3 separate regions of the Homo sapiens genome follow, and all the other regions are linked to region 3. The links are contacts of gene promoters, found by promoter capture Hi-C in blood cells and fetal thymus (Javierre and others, 2016). All regions are on one chromosome and are shown on one strand. The core of a region is centred on a gene start or on the middle of the fragment in contact, and the rest is flanking DNA. Distances in the headings are between cores, read along the strand shown.

Region 1 (4,515 bases), core at 262-2,761, 3.6 Mb before region 3:
AGGGATGCTCTCCAGTGCTGAAGGAGGGAGTGCAGCTCCCTTGAGGGCCTTCAAGGGGTTGGTACACGTCACCTTCAGCAGACCAGAGGCGACCTGTGGGGCTCATGAGCTCTCCTGTCGACTGTTGGGCCATTCATTTGCTCATTTGTTTATGTGACAAGGATGAGGACCTACTTGGTGCAGAGAAGACAGGCCCAGTAAGAGGAGGGCTGGCTTGAAACAACTGCAGGTCCTTGAGAGACCAGAGGTGCTCGGGAGGTGGTGAGGAGCAGGTTGGGAGCCTTGTTGCAGGAGATGAGTGAGCCAGGGGAAGGCAGAGCGGCAGTGTCAGTGAGGCACACAGGGGAGGAGCAGACTCTCCCATCCCCTGCCGTGGCCCTTCAGTGGCCTCCTATCGCTGGGGAGAAAATCCACACTCATACCCAAGGATGGCCTGGCCGGCTTCATCTCCTCCTAGTTGCTGGGTGTGCCACCCGCCAACTCCTGCAGTTCCAGGAATGGGCAGGGCTCCCTCCCTACCAGCTCCTCAGGCACATTTTGTGGGCAGGGTTTATGGGAAAATGTCGGGGAGGAGGGCAGGGGGTTACTACAGGCTACTGTATCTGTCCCAAATCAGGGTCAGGTTCTACCTGAAGATAGTAGTGTTAGCTCTGAGTTCATTCCAGACCCGTTTATTTGATTCTAGAAACAGTTCCTATCAAAACCTGCTCTTTTTTTTTTTTTTGAGACTGAGTCTTGCTCTGTCGCCCAGGCTGGGGTGCAGCGGCGCGATCTCGGCTCTCTGCAACCTCCGCTTCCTGGGTTCAAGCGATTCTCCTGCCTCAGCCTCCCGAGTAGCTGGAACTACAGGAGGCACCACCCCGGGCCAATTTTTGTATTTTTTAGTAGAGACCGGGTTTCGCCATGTTGGCCACACTGGTCTCGAACTCCTGACCTCAGGTGATCCACCCGCCTCGGCCTCCCAAAGTGCTGGAAGTACAGGCAAAAACTGCTTTTGAAACGCGTCCTAGCGTTTCTGGACAGCACCGGCCAGGAAGTCAGGAGGCTTGGTGCTGCTCCTGCGCCTGCCCTCGCCCCAAGTCCTGGGCTTCGGGATCCCCATGGCAACCCCAGGTCCCGCTGGCTGTGAGGCTGCGGCCGGAACCCGGTCTTCCCGGCTAGGAGCCCGCGGGGGGCGACCCCCTGCAGGGCTTGGCCTGCTGCGGGAGGAGGGCTCGGGGAAGGGTGCGAGCCGAGCCCGAGGCGCACGGCGAGTCCTGTGGGAGTGGGGGACGCGGGGGCGGCCCTGGCTCCGCCGCGGCACCTGGACCTCTACTTTCCGAGGTGAGCATTTGGGGGTCGAGGGCGTAGAGCGATCGCACCCTGAATGGAGCCCAGGGCAGCCAGCGACCTGTCCCGTGGCCCGCAGTCGTTACCGTTCCGGGGCGGCCGCCTAGGCGGGTCCCGACGCGGCCCGCGGGAGCTCGGGGTGCCCTCGCCCGCCGCTGCCATCTTGCCGCCGAGGGTTCTCTTAGCGACCAGCAACGCCCGCTTCCATTGGTCTTTGTCGCAAGGGGGGGTGTGGCCACGGGCCTAGTCCCTGAGCCCGCGCAATCTCTGGAGCGAAGCTAGCCGGGCCCGGAGCCAGAGGACGCAGCTGCGCCTGTGCGCGTTTCCGCCGCTGTCGTCTCTTCCGCCGGGAGGCCCGCCCGCCAACGGCCTGCGCGTCTGCGCCGGAAGCGGAAATGGTTGGAGCCCTTGGCCCCGCCCTCGCGCCATCTTGGGGGCCCTGGAGGCGGCGCCGCGGAGGACGGAGCGGAAGTGCTCGCTGCAGCTTCCCGGAGCCGGAGCGCAGCGCCTGCGGCCGCCCGTGCCCCGCCGTCCTCCTTCCCGCGGCCGTGAGGGAGACCGCGGCTCGGCCGTAGCGGAGCTGCGAGGTGCCAGGAAGGGCTGCGTGGCGCGGGAACGGCCGGGCAGCGCCGCCTCCGCTTCTTCCGGGCTGTCAAGGCCGCGGGCGGGCGGGGCCGCGCTGAGGGCCGGGCGGGGAGGGCCGTCGGGGCCCGGGTGGCCGCGGGGACCGTGTTCCCGACCCGCGGCCCTGAGGGGTACGGGTCGCGCCTCGGGGTCGGGCCCGGGACGGGGTGCTGGGGGGTGCGGCGGAGCCCTGGGGCCTGCGAGGGTCGGGGGAGCGGGAGAGGGGCCGGGCGGGGGCTGCAGCCCTCGAGCCACCCGGGCCGCATCTCGTCCGCATCCCCTGCTTGGCATCTGGGGGAAGCGGGCAGTCGCGGCCCCCACAGCGCTGCGAGTTGGGCTGTATTCCAGAGTAATGTGCCCTGTCCCCATCCTGCGTCCAGGTCAGCGCTTATCTGTAGGATTTAGTGTTAAGCTCTGGGGTGAAGGCGTTACTGACGGGCTGAAGGGAAACTAGTTACATCGGTTTTGATCGTATTCTAAATAGGCAATAAAATCATAAATTCTCCAGGCTGACTTAGTACTGGTCTGTGGCCCCACTGATAAAGGTATCGTTCGTTTCTCTGCCAGGTGTCTCACAGCACAGAGGGCTGCTTTCAGCCTAAGTACCTTCAGTGGGCTTTTGCCCTTTTCCCTTTATGAAGAGTAGAGACTGGCCGCTAGTCCTGGAAGCACTTTATTTTTAGTTGAGTTGACATTTCCCAGGAAGATGCAGTTATCCCCGTAAGTGGATAAAGGGTTCTCAGTAATTCAGACTCTCACATGGCTTCTGCCGTATGCCTGAGGTGACGGCGACGGCGGTAACAGTGTGTCAGAGCCAGGTGGAGATATAAGATGGTCAGGCCCAGAGGAGCGGGGAGCCCAGGCTGGAATGTGGCCTTGGGAAGGAGGAAGAGACGGGGTCTGGGAGGGCATTTCAGAGGACTGAACAACACCAGAGGCGTGAAGCTTGGTGCACGGCAGCCGGGGGCTTTCTTAGTCCCGGAGGAATTGGGGATGGGGACGTGAAGAGAAAGGTGGGAGCCAGACTGTCAATGCTCCCGGACGCCAGGCAGAGGACTTCATCCTTTCCACGTGCAGAGTGATGGACCACAGATGTGGATGAATGTGACGGGCCTGGAACAAGGCACATAGAGAGTCTTACACTTTCTGGCACGTCCTCATGGTCTCTGCTTGGACTGGTTTTATCTCCCTTTCTGTTTTGTTTGTGACCAGGCATAAAGCAGTCACCTTCAACAGGTAATTGATGGGCTGTCTACTATGTAATGGACTTCCAGGTGGCAGGGCCCAGCCCCGAACCAGACAAGGGACCCCTCAAGGAGCTTCATTCTAGCAGGAGAAAATTGAGAAGTAAACCAGAAAGGTATCAGGAAACAGTTGTACACAAAATAAAAATAGGGTGATGTGATGTAAGGGACTGGGGGTCAGTGTGGGCGGTAACGGAGGCCTGTGAAGAGGAGGTGGGCTTCAAACTGAGCAGAGAAGAGGACTGCAGAGGGGGCAGCTGGTGTGAGGGCTGGCCCTGATCCAGGAACAGGGCTGGCACTGCCTTGCCCGGCTCCAAGGGTGCTCCACGGGCTGCCCACTGATTCCTCACGAGAGCCTTGTGGAGAAGGCATGAGAGGTGCTGTTGTCCCATTTCACAGACTGGAACCTGAGGCATCCTGGAATAGCCTGTCCTAGTCACACTGGCAGAGAGTGGTAGAGCCAGGATCTGAAAGCAGGCTGTTGGAGTCCAAAGTTCACGTTCTTGCTCCTGCCGCCCTGCCTCAGGCTATTCCTGGCAATGCGTTCAGTCAGGGTGCAAGCTGTGTTTGGTATACGTGTGTGTTTGGTATACGTGTTGTGTGTGTCAGACAAGCAGGATTGGCTGATGGCGTTTTGAGTAGGTTTTCTACATGTTCAGTTGGAGAGTGAGAAGTTCTGAGCTTTGCCTAGAGAACACCCTTTGGCGGGAGAGCTGGGTATTTTCTCCCTGACATTACTCTCATCACCTCCAGTCCAGTAAAAGTGCTTTAATGGGAAACAGTCTGAGTAAAACGGGGAAACTTACAAGGAGCTATAGGACGAACAATGTGACGGGTGGCTTTCAGATGGCCTGGCTTTGGCCTAAATAGGGTGGCCATTCCAGGTGACACATTTTAGTGTAGCCTCTATTTAAATATGGAGTTCTTTCAGTGGAGAGTAAAGGTGCTCCTCCTCTGTGTCTGGTTTACACGGCTCCGCGAGACCAAAGGGCCCCTCGGTCTCCTTGAGCAGCCTGGCACTCTGCACAGAGGATCCAGGAACGGTGTCATGGAGCCACATTCTGCACAGACTTGATGATGTGGAGGGAGCTGCCTGGATCACTTCAGCGCATCAGTTGTGATGGGAGAGCCAAGGCACTTGAGGGCGGGATTGCGTCTGGCCACCTGTTGCCTTCCACCTGAAGGGAAGATTTCCCCAGTGCTCACAGTGAGGATGGGACTGGAAAAGCGTTGGTTTCAGGAAGGTGCAGGTTCTGGCTCCTGCCCACTGCGAACATGCTGATGGGCCAGGGCAACTCTTTAGTCTTTGTGAGCTTCA
Region 2 (4,280 bases), core at 902-3,401, 3.4 Mb before region 3:
AAAGCTCTGATCCTCAAGGATGAGAAGCTGAGACCCAGCAAATGCTGTACAGTCCCTGATAAAATGCCTCTCACCTTTTCAGCCCCCCACATCATCTAGCTGCTTCCTCAAACCTCACTGTTCTCTGTCCAACTCAGCACACGACTGAGTCTGCTTCACTGGGTCTTCACTTCCTTAGGAGGGCTCCTGAGCCACATCCAACTTTAATCAAATACACTGGCATGATGATCTGTCTTATCTTGATTTAACTCTTGGGCCCAGCCAGGACCTCAAAAGGATGGAGGTGGAGTTTTTCAGCCCCTACATATGCAAACACACACATAGCATGTATCTGAGCGGCCACATGGGCTGGCCCTGCTATTTTCTTATGGCTTCTCAGCCTCCCAGCCACCTTCTGCTCTGCATCACTGGAGCTGGGAGGCTGCAAGCTCCTTTCCCACTCTCCTCTGCCCGTTGGCTTCCAGTGAGGCTCCTGCAGCGATGGCGTTGGTGGGAGATGCCAGGCGAGGAATTGATCTCGCATTCTCGTTTCTGGGAACGTCTCTGAAAATGGCTGAATCCCGTCTGGGATCCCAGCTCCCAAGGAGGCGGCAGCTTGCTCACTGCTTGCACAGCCCCAGACGGCAGAGGGGCCCTCTCCTGCACAGCCTGAGACAGTGGAGGGGCCCCCTCCTGCACAGCCCCAGAAGATAGAGGGGCCCCCTCCTGCACAGCCCGAGACAGTAGAGGGGCCCCCTCCTGCACAGCCTGAGACGGTGGGGGGGGGCCCTTCCTGCCCAGCCCCAGATGGTAGAGGGGCCCCCTCCTGCACAACTCCAGAGGGTAGAGGGCCCCTCCTGCACAGCCCGAGACGGTAGAGGGGTAGCCCTGGTCTCTGGGGGCTGCACTCCTGGGCTCTGGAGCTGCCACAGCTCCTCCCTCCTAGTGCTTCCCCTTCCTTGTTTTGCTTTTTGCCCTTTCTGACATAGTGACGACTTCCGTTTCGCAGTCTGGACCTTCACCACCCCAGGGCGAGGGCACAGGCGAAGCAGCAGCACCCCCCCGGGGCCTCTCTTTATTTGGAATACAGTGTGGGGGCTCCCCCTTCCTTCTCCAGCCCGCCCAGGCCCCTGGAGCTGTCCTGGGGCCTGGGGAGTGAGGACCCGTGCCAGCAGCACAGACTCTGCCAGGCCGGGCCCGCTCAGGTGGGAGCCCAGGCCGGGTGAAGCTGTGACCCGGCCCTCACCCCAACTCGGTGACAAAAGCTATCACAGGGCTGCAGTGGGGGAGGAACAGGACGCATCTGCCAGGCACCTGACCCGCAGTGCACTTCTGGGAGCTGTGCTTATCTCCCCGGGGTCTATTTCGCCCCAAGGTTTGGCGGGTTAAAAGCTGATATGCAACCGGCACGACATGAACAGTATTTCATGATTAAAGACATCGCGTCCATGTATAATTGAGATGCTGCCGCATTTGCGGGGATTTTCAAGCGAAAACCAGGCCACGTGGAAAGGCTAAGCCCTCGCACCCCCCCGCCCCCCACTGCTGGGACCCCCGCCCCGCGGGAGACCCCGGCCCGCGGTCCCCTATGCCCGCGACCCCTGCGCTCACCCTCTCCCCTCAACCCTGAGTCCAGCCCAGTCTCGCGCGAGGCCGCAGGGAGACCCCCGCCGCTCCCTGGACCACCCCTGGGCCCACCGTACCCAGCCGCTCCCCGGCGCCCCCCGGGACGACCCCGAGCCGGCTGCCCGCCTCCCGCCGCATTCCGCACAGGCGCACCGCGCACCGAGGGCCGCACCGCCCAGCTCCGCCTGCTGCGCCAATGGCCGACGGGGTCCAAGTCGGCGGCCCAACGGAGAGGCGGGGCTAGGGGCGGGACCAGGACGCGGGACAGCAACTGTCCCGCAAGGCCCGGATTGAGGAGGCGGGAGGGACCGAAGCAGGCGGACCCAGGATTTGGCGCCGCGATCTCGAGGCTTGGCCTGGAGTAGGAGGGGAAACAAGGCGGGACTAGGGGCGAATCCGAGGGGGCGGAGCAGGGCTCGGGGTGCGGTCGGGGGCGTGGCCGGGGCGCGCTGCGGCCATCTTGGGGGCGGGCCCGGGGCGGAGACGAGCCCGAAGGGGCGGGGCCTCGGCGGCAGCAAGAAAGGCGGGACCGGGGCATCTCGGGGCGGGGCTTGGGGCTGGATCTATGAGCCGGGAGCGGGGATCCAGGAGCGAGGAGCCGGGAGCGGGGAACAGGGAGTCGGGGAGCCGGGAACCAGGGCTGGCAGCGGCCGCCATGAGCACGGTGGACCTTGCTCGCGTGGGCGCGTGCATCCTGAAGCATGCGGTGACCGGGGAGGTGAGGCCGGGTGGACGCAGGGCGGTGGGCGCGTCCCTGGCTCCTTGCCCGGGCGTCCTGGCAGCGATGGGGTGGTGGGGGCCGCGGGGCCTGGGCGGGGCTGGGGGCAACGGGGCGCGCCCATGACCCAGCCGCCCGGCAGGCCGTGGAGCTGCGGAGCCTGTGGCGGGAGCACGCGTGCGTGGTGGCCGGGCTGCGGCGCTTCGGGTGCGTGGTGTGCCGCTGGATCGCCCAGGACCTCAGCAGCCTTGCTGGGCTCCTGGACCAACACGGCGTGCGCCTGGTGGGCGTAGGGCCCGAGGCCCTGGGTCTGCAGGAGTTCCTGGACGGCGACTACTTCGCGGGAGGTGCGTCCTGTTCCCCGCCGCGGCGGCGCACATACCCTTCCCTAAGCTCAGGGCGTTCGGGGCCCTTTCCTGCCCAACCCCGGCCCTTCTGTCTGCTGGAGCGGCCTTGATATGCCCACGGGTCAGCGTCCCTCATCTCTCCCTGCCTCCCCGCCCCGCAGCTGGTGGCTGGGTGGTGCCCTGCACAGACCTGGGCCCAGCAGCAGAGTCTGGACGAGCTCTGCCCCGCCGGCTCCACCTGTTGCCTCTGGGACTCAGCCCCTCTTCTGAGGGGAGGGGGGACACTCAGCCCCGTTTTACCCCTCCCTGCCCTGCGGGGGTGGGCTGAGCACGGAGGGTGGGCAGAGGAACAGAGGGTCGGAAGGAGGAGGGCGATTCTTTGTGGTGAGTGGGTTGGGGGCTGGTTCTGCGCCTGGGGCACACACATGTGGCTTCCGCTTTCCAGAGCTCTACCTGGATGAGAGCAAGCAGCTTTACAAGGAGCTAGGCTTCAAGCGGTGAGTGGGGGCGGGAACCCTTGGGTAGCGTGGGGTGGGGGGCCCAGGGGTTCCCACCGCTCCCTGCCACCTCCTCTCCCTGCTGCCCTCTGTGGTGCTGTCCACTCGGGCCTTCCTGGGCAAGGCGGCTCTGGTGGCACTGTTGACCAGCCCTTCTGCCAGGCCTTCTCTTGGGTGCTGGGTGACTGTAATGAGCCACCTCGTCCGGGGCTTACTCTCGGTGTCCAGACCACCTCGTGGGGTGGAGCCTCGTGGCCCATCAGGGGCCATCCTAGCTTTCTGGTGTCTGTGCCACAGGCTGCTTCCTTTGCTTGGCAGTTGCCAGCTGAGCCAGATCCCTGGGCACACCCAGCCTGGGGCCCCATCCATGCTCCCTGCACCCTCTGTGGACCCTCGGCTAGCAGCCACTGGGCTCGGTGTCCAACCTGCCGGTGGGCTGGGCTGGCTACTGATCTGGTCGCCTGTGCCATCTCTGAGCCCTGGTGAGGCGGGTGGGTGGGGTGGGGCCTGACCTAGGAACTGGTCTCATGGACACTGGAGCAGGCTCTGGACCCAGGCTTCTCCGGAGTTTGGCCAAGCGACCTGGTGTCTTCGCAGGTACAACAGCCTGAGCATCCTCCCAGCAGCTCTGGGGAAGCCCGTGCGTGATGTGGCTGCCAAGGTGTGTGCGGGTCAAGGGTGTACAGGCCGGGGGGTGGTGGGAGCTCCCAGGAGCCTTTCTTCTAGGATTGACTCAGGCTGTACCCACTCCTGACAGGCCAAGGCTGTTGGCATCCAGGGGAACTTGTCTGGGGACCTGCTGCAGAGCGGAGGGCTGCTGGTGGTCAGCAAAGGTGGGTCGAGGGAGGGGCCTCGGCCACTGCCTCAAGGAGGGCCTTGCTGAACTTGGTGGCCCAGCCCAGGCCCTCTCTCTGGCTTGTCAGTCTCATCACAGCCCCTCCGCCGCAATGTGGCCTGGTTCTGCGTGTCTGCTGGGCTGAGTGGGGCTGTGGCAGAACAGCTCACTCATCTGGGTAGCCGGGTGGGGGATATGGCTGGCCAGGGCTGCCCTACCCTCCCTCCTCCTGGTATGTGGCTGTGAGGTGCAGGCGGCCTCCGGGGTGCCGTGACTGC
Region 3 (4,039 bases), core at 1,165-3,664:
AGGTGACACCTGAGACTCTGCAGGTGGGAGCCCAAGCGCCCGCAGCAGCTCTCACTGCCATCCCAGCACCTCACAAACCTCTCCGGGTGCCCTTCCACCTGCTCCTTGCTCCTTTCCACCTCTGCTCTGGCCTCTAGGAGTCAAACCAAATGCTCCCTCCTCAGAGCGAGAGCCCCATCCCCCACCTCCGGCTGCTCCCACACAGGGCAGGTGACAGAAGAGCCACCACGCTTCACCAGGGCTGTGCTGTAGTCCTGCGAGACTGTGAGCTCCATGACACCAGGCTGGGTCTTCAGCAAAAGTCTTTTAAGGATGAAATACAAATGCCCTGGAGGAAGTGCAGAGGGGCCTTTGGGGCCAAATCAACAATAAAAGAGAAAATCGAGAAGGCTCCAGGTCTTGAACCCAAGAAAAGGGTACAGTGGGCTCTCCAGGGGAAAAAAAAAAAGAAGAAGAAGAAAATACACCCACTTTTAATGAGCCCCTGATGCAAGACAGGAACTCACATTCTATGGTTACTATTCCAACAACTCTGCCAAATGAGAATCATCATTATCGCCATCTTACAGATGAGAACACTGAGACTCAGAAAGGATAAACAGCCAATCCAAGGTCACACAGCTAGCTATTATAACTAGCTATTATAATAGTATTATAGATATAATACTGTAAGCTATTATAACTACCTCCCACTACCTCAATCAAGGAGGCCAGGAGAGGCCAAGGGAGAAGAGAGGCCCAGAGGGAAAAAGTAAGAGCACCAAAGGAACCCAGGGCTAATGCTGTCTCCTCTTTAACTTCAGGACAGATTCGCAGCCTCCCCACCTGTTTCCAACCTCCAAAATGAGAGCTGTGAAATCTCCTTGAGATCTCTGCTTCTGCTGATCTATTCAGCAACTATTTCCCGAGCACTTGTGTTCCAGTGCATAAGAAGGCTGTCAAATGTGCTGTCTTCAAGCATCTAGAAAGCCAGTGGGGGAGAAAGACAAGAAAGTGACTGTGAGCAGCAACAGGCCCCCGGGAGGGTGCAGAGGTGAGCAGGGCTGAAGGAAGATGCAGGGGGTGGGAGGCGCTGTCAGGGTCCGGGAAGCCTCCTTCCCGGAATGGAAAATGTGTAATGCCTGAGACCCAGATGCCTTGGGGAGCTTTTGGGGAAGCAGAGGTCTGATTAAGCACTGCCTGGAATTCCCTCATTCATGAGCATTCTTTCAGCACCTACCCTGCGCCCGGGAGAAACGGTCTTGAACACAGCAGACAAGCTCGCTACCCCCATAGAATGTAAAGAAACGGGGCACAAATTAGCATACAAAAAGACACAAGTGTGACCTACGGAAACTGCACAGAGGAGGTGCAACGAACGGAGCCCTGGGTTAGGACCGGGAGGCGCTGCCCACCATCAACAGAAATACTCCTCCTTTTGCCAACTACACACGCGAGAGGCTGGATTTCCTTCACAGACGTCCACCAAAGCCACACATCGCGACACACGGAGGCAGAAAGCAGCGGTCTCCTAAGAAGTTAGACACGAGGAATCTCGGGCAGCGAGGTGCCTGCAAGCCCGGGGGCGGGCGGGAGCAGCCTGCACGCGTGGGGAAGGGCACGCGGGAGCGGGTGGCGCCTTCCGGGCCGGGTCGGCCGGGAGGTTCCAAGGCAGGAAAGGGGCGCAGAAGGCCGGGACGGCGCCGGGTACAAAGCCTCGCAGGGACGCCCGAAGGCCGCAGAGCCACCGCGGGGAACTGACAGCCGGAGCCGGAGCTGGAGCCGGGGGGCGGGGAGGAGGGGCGGAGGGGCGCGGCCAGGCGGGGTCCGCGGACTCCGGCCTGGGAAGGATGCGCGCGGACTAGGGCGCGGGGAGCCAAGGCCCAGAACATCGGTACCGCGCTCCCTTCAGCCGAGGGGCTGCAGAGAGGCCAGGGGGCAGGGGGCAGGGGGCAGGGGGCAGGGGGCAAAGGGCAAGGGCAGAAAGGAACCCACGTAGCCAAACGGCACCCAGCGGCCCCGACCCCAAGTGTCCCGACGAGGGGGGACGCCTGCGACTAACGCGGGGACAGCCCCCGCCGCGCGCCACCGCCGCACCCCAGGCACCGGGCCCCCACGCAGGGACGGCGTGGACCACCCTACCCCCGAACCCCGAGGCTCTGGCCAACACTGAGGCCCCCTGTGCCTCGAGGCCGCGTCCAACCTCCCCCGCGGCGCCGGCCCACATGGTTCCGCCCGCCGCGGGCCGCGTTACCTAGGAGACCGACCCGCCGCGGCCGCGCCGGAGGCCACGGAGCCCACGCTTTTCAGAGAGTCTCCACTCGACGGACCCAGAGGCCCGGCGGCCGGTGCTCAACGGAGCCACAAGCCTGAGGACCGAGGACTGGCCGAGGGGCGCGCCCCGTCCGCTGCCACCCGCGGGAGGAGCCTCGGAAGGCGGCGCACCGCGCCGCACACTCAGTCCAAGAACCCGCCTCGCGTCACTGTCGCCGTCAGGGCCGCGGAGCCAATCAGAGCCCAAGTCGAGGGCTGCGCTTTGCGAGCGCCAGCCAATCGGTGCGGCGGCGGGCCCATCCTGATTTGCATGTCCGACGACCCCTCAACCAATGGTAATGTGACTGGCGTGAACAATAGCCAATCAGAAGCTGGAAGAGGCGTGGCCCCGGGCGTCCCACGAGGTGAAGATGCTGCTGGCGGAACCTGCAGGAGCTAGCGGGATTCGGGGGCGCTAAAGTCGCAGGGGCAGGGCGGGAAGGAAGATCCGGCGCGGGGCACAGGATCCGGAGCTGGAGCCCCCAGGTGAGTACCGGGGAGACCCCGGCGGGGCGCGCTTTCCACCAAGCTGCTCCGGGACGGCGGCGGCGGGTATCCGCGAGGCCCGCGCTGCGGCAGGCGCCGCGGTCCCGTCTCCATCTCTTCTTCCCCGGCCCTGCGTCCCTGCCTCCGCCGCTGTCTCACCTCCTCTCCAGCCTCCTCACCTCCTTCTCCATCGTCTCCCTTCCCCCATCCCTTTCTGTCTTTCCTTCCCTGTCCTCCCGCCCGCCCGACCCTTCAGCTCGCATCCCTGACCCCTGCCCCTGCCGCCGTCCCTCTTCCCGGTGCACCTCTTCCCCATCTCTGCCCGCTCCGGTCCTAGCAGCCTCGCCCTCCCCTTTCCTCCATCCTCCTCTCATCCCCTCTCCCGGCCTCTGCGCAGCCCCACCGGGGCGCTGCTGTTCCCGGTCCTCCCCATCTCTCCTCCTGATCGCTTCTCAAGGCTCATCCGTCGTTCTCGCTGCCTGTCCCTGTGTCGCTCCGGTCCCTTTCCCCACCCTCCCATTCTGCCCCCAGCCCCTCCGACCTCTCCCCGCGGGCACGCTCTCACCACCTTACCCTGCTCCCCAAGACTGTGACCCTGCTTCCTGCACCAGTTCCTCGGGCTGTTTACAGCACACACACCGCCACTTCTGACCCTGAGCCCCTACTCCTATCTTAAGCTTCTCCCTCCTGCCAGGCCTTGGCACAAAGCACTTCCGCACCTCCCTACCTGCTGCTGCTCCCAGGATGCAAAGACCCCACTGCTGCACCGCGTCCTGCGGCATTAGCAGCAGCCGGGGTACCTGCCCACCTTCCCACCCCGCCAACCAGCCGCATCCTGGTGTCCCTCCTCCTGGCATTTGTCCTGGGGGCTCTTACAGGGACTGTGCTTTGCCCGCAGCATCCCGGGGTGCTCCAGGTGGAAAGCCCCTTAGCACCTTTCCTCCCTGGCCACCGTCTCCTTCCCTCCCCACCCCCACTTTCCTGCTCAGCCTCACTTTGTGATTCAGCATTTTTGGGGTTGGTAACTTTCTTGCTTCCTGTCGTGATAGGGACCTGGCTACGGAGCTGAAGGCAGGGGTCTTGACCCTGCGGTTAGCAGGGCCACCTTAGGAACCAGACCTGAGCTGCCTGGTTGGGAGGGGGCTGAGGAGCTGGGGACCGCCACTGGGGGTTGTCTTTTCCTCCCTTTCATTTGTCTGCCCTGTGTTGAACTGTGTCCAAGGGGAGATGACATAAGTAATAGCTCTTGGGGAAGTGGGCT

Evidence for each region. Contacts are between HindIII fragments. The CHiCAGO score rates a contact against its expected background, and 5 or more counts as called.
Region 1: a contact is called between the fragment with the promoter of MORN1 here and the fragment with the promoter of NPHP4 in region 3, in 1 of 17 cell types (fetal thymus). The highest score is 8.2, in fetal thymus.
Region 2: the fragment with the promoter of PRXL2B here is called in contact with the fragment with the promoter of NPHP4 in region 3 in 2 of 17 cell types (fetal thymus and monocytes); the score reaches 11.0 in fetal thymus.

The regions. Positions count from the first base shown.
Region 1 is chr1:2,390,043-2,394,557 of GRCh38, forward strand. It overlaps MORN1 (MORN repeat containing 1), which reads right to left and starts at 1,512. Exons shown (of 14, transcript NM_024848.3): 1 at 1,416-1,512. The coding sequence starts at 1,491. RER1 (retention in endoplasmic reticulum sorting receptor 1) reads left to right here and starts at 1,799. Exons shown (of 7, transcript NM_007033.5): 1 at 1,799-1,916. RefSeq lists silencers at 1,085-1,214, 1,375-1,444, 1,575-1,684, 1,785-2,084 and enhancers at 1,508-1,802, 1,671-2,543. The HindIII fragment of the contact is 4,806 bases long and covers 1-2,896 here.
Region 2 is chr1:2,584,626-2,588,905 of GRCh38, forward strand. It overlaps PRXL2B (peroxiredoxin like 2B), which reads left to right and starts at 2,152. Exons shown (of 7, transcript NM_152371.5): 1 at 2,152-2,323; 2 at 2,466-2,670; 3 at 3,116-3,167; 4 at 3,765-3,828; 5 at 3,925-4,000. The coding sequence starts at 2,261. RefSeq lists an enhancer at 2,960-3,592. The HindIII fragment of the contact is 11,388 bases long and covers 1-4,280 here.
Region 3 is chr1:5,990,011-5,994,049 of GRCh38, forward strand. It overlaps NPHP4 (nephrocystin 4), which reads right to left and starts at 2,415. Exons shown (of 30, transcript NM_015102.5): 1 at 2,234-2,415. It also overlaps a transcript of KCNAB2 not described here. RefSeq lists enhancers at 984-1,838, 3,715-3,764 and silencers at 1,915-2,094, 2,245-2,414, 2,455-2,634, 2,715-2,964. The HindIII fragment of the contact is 3,854 bases long and covers 1-3,453 here.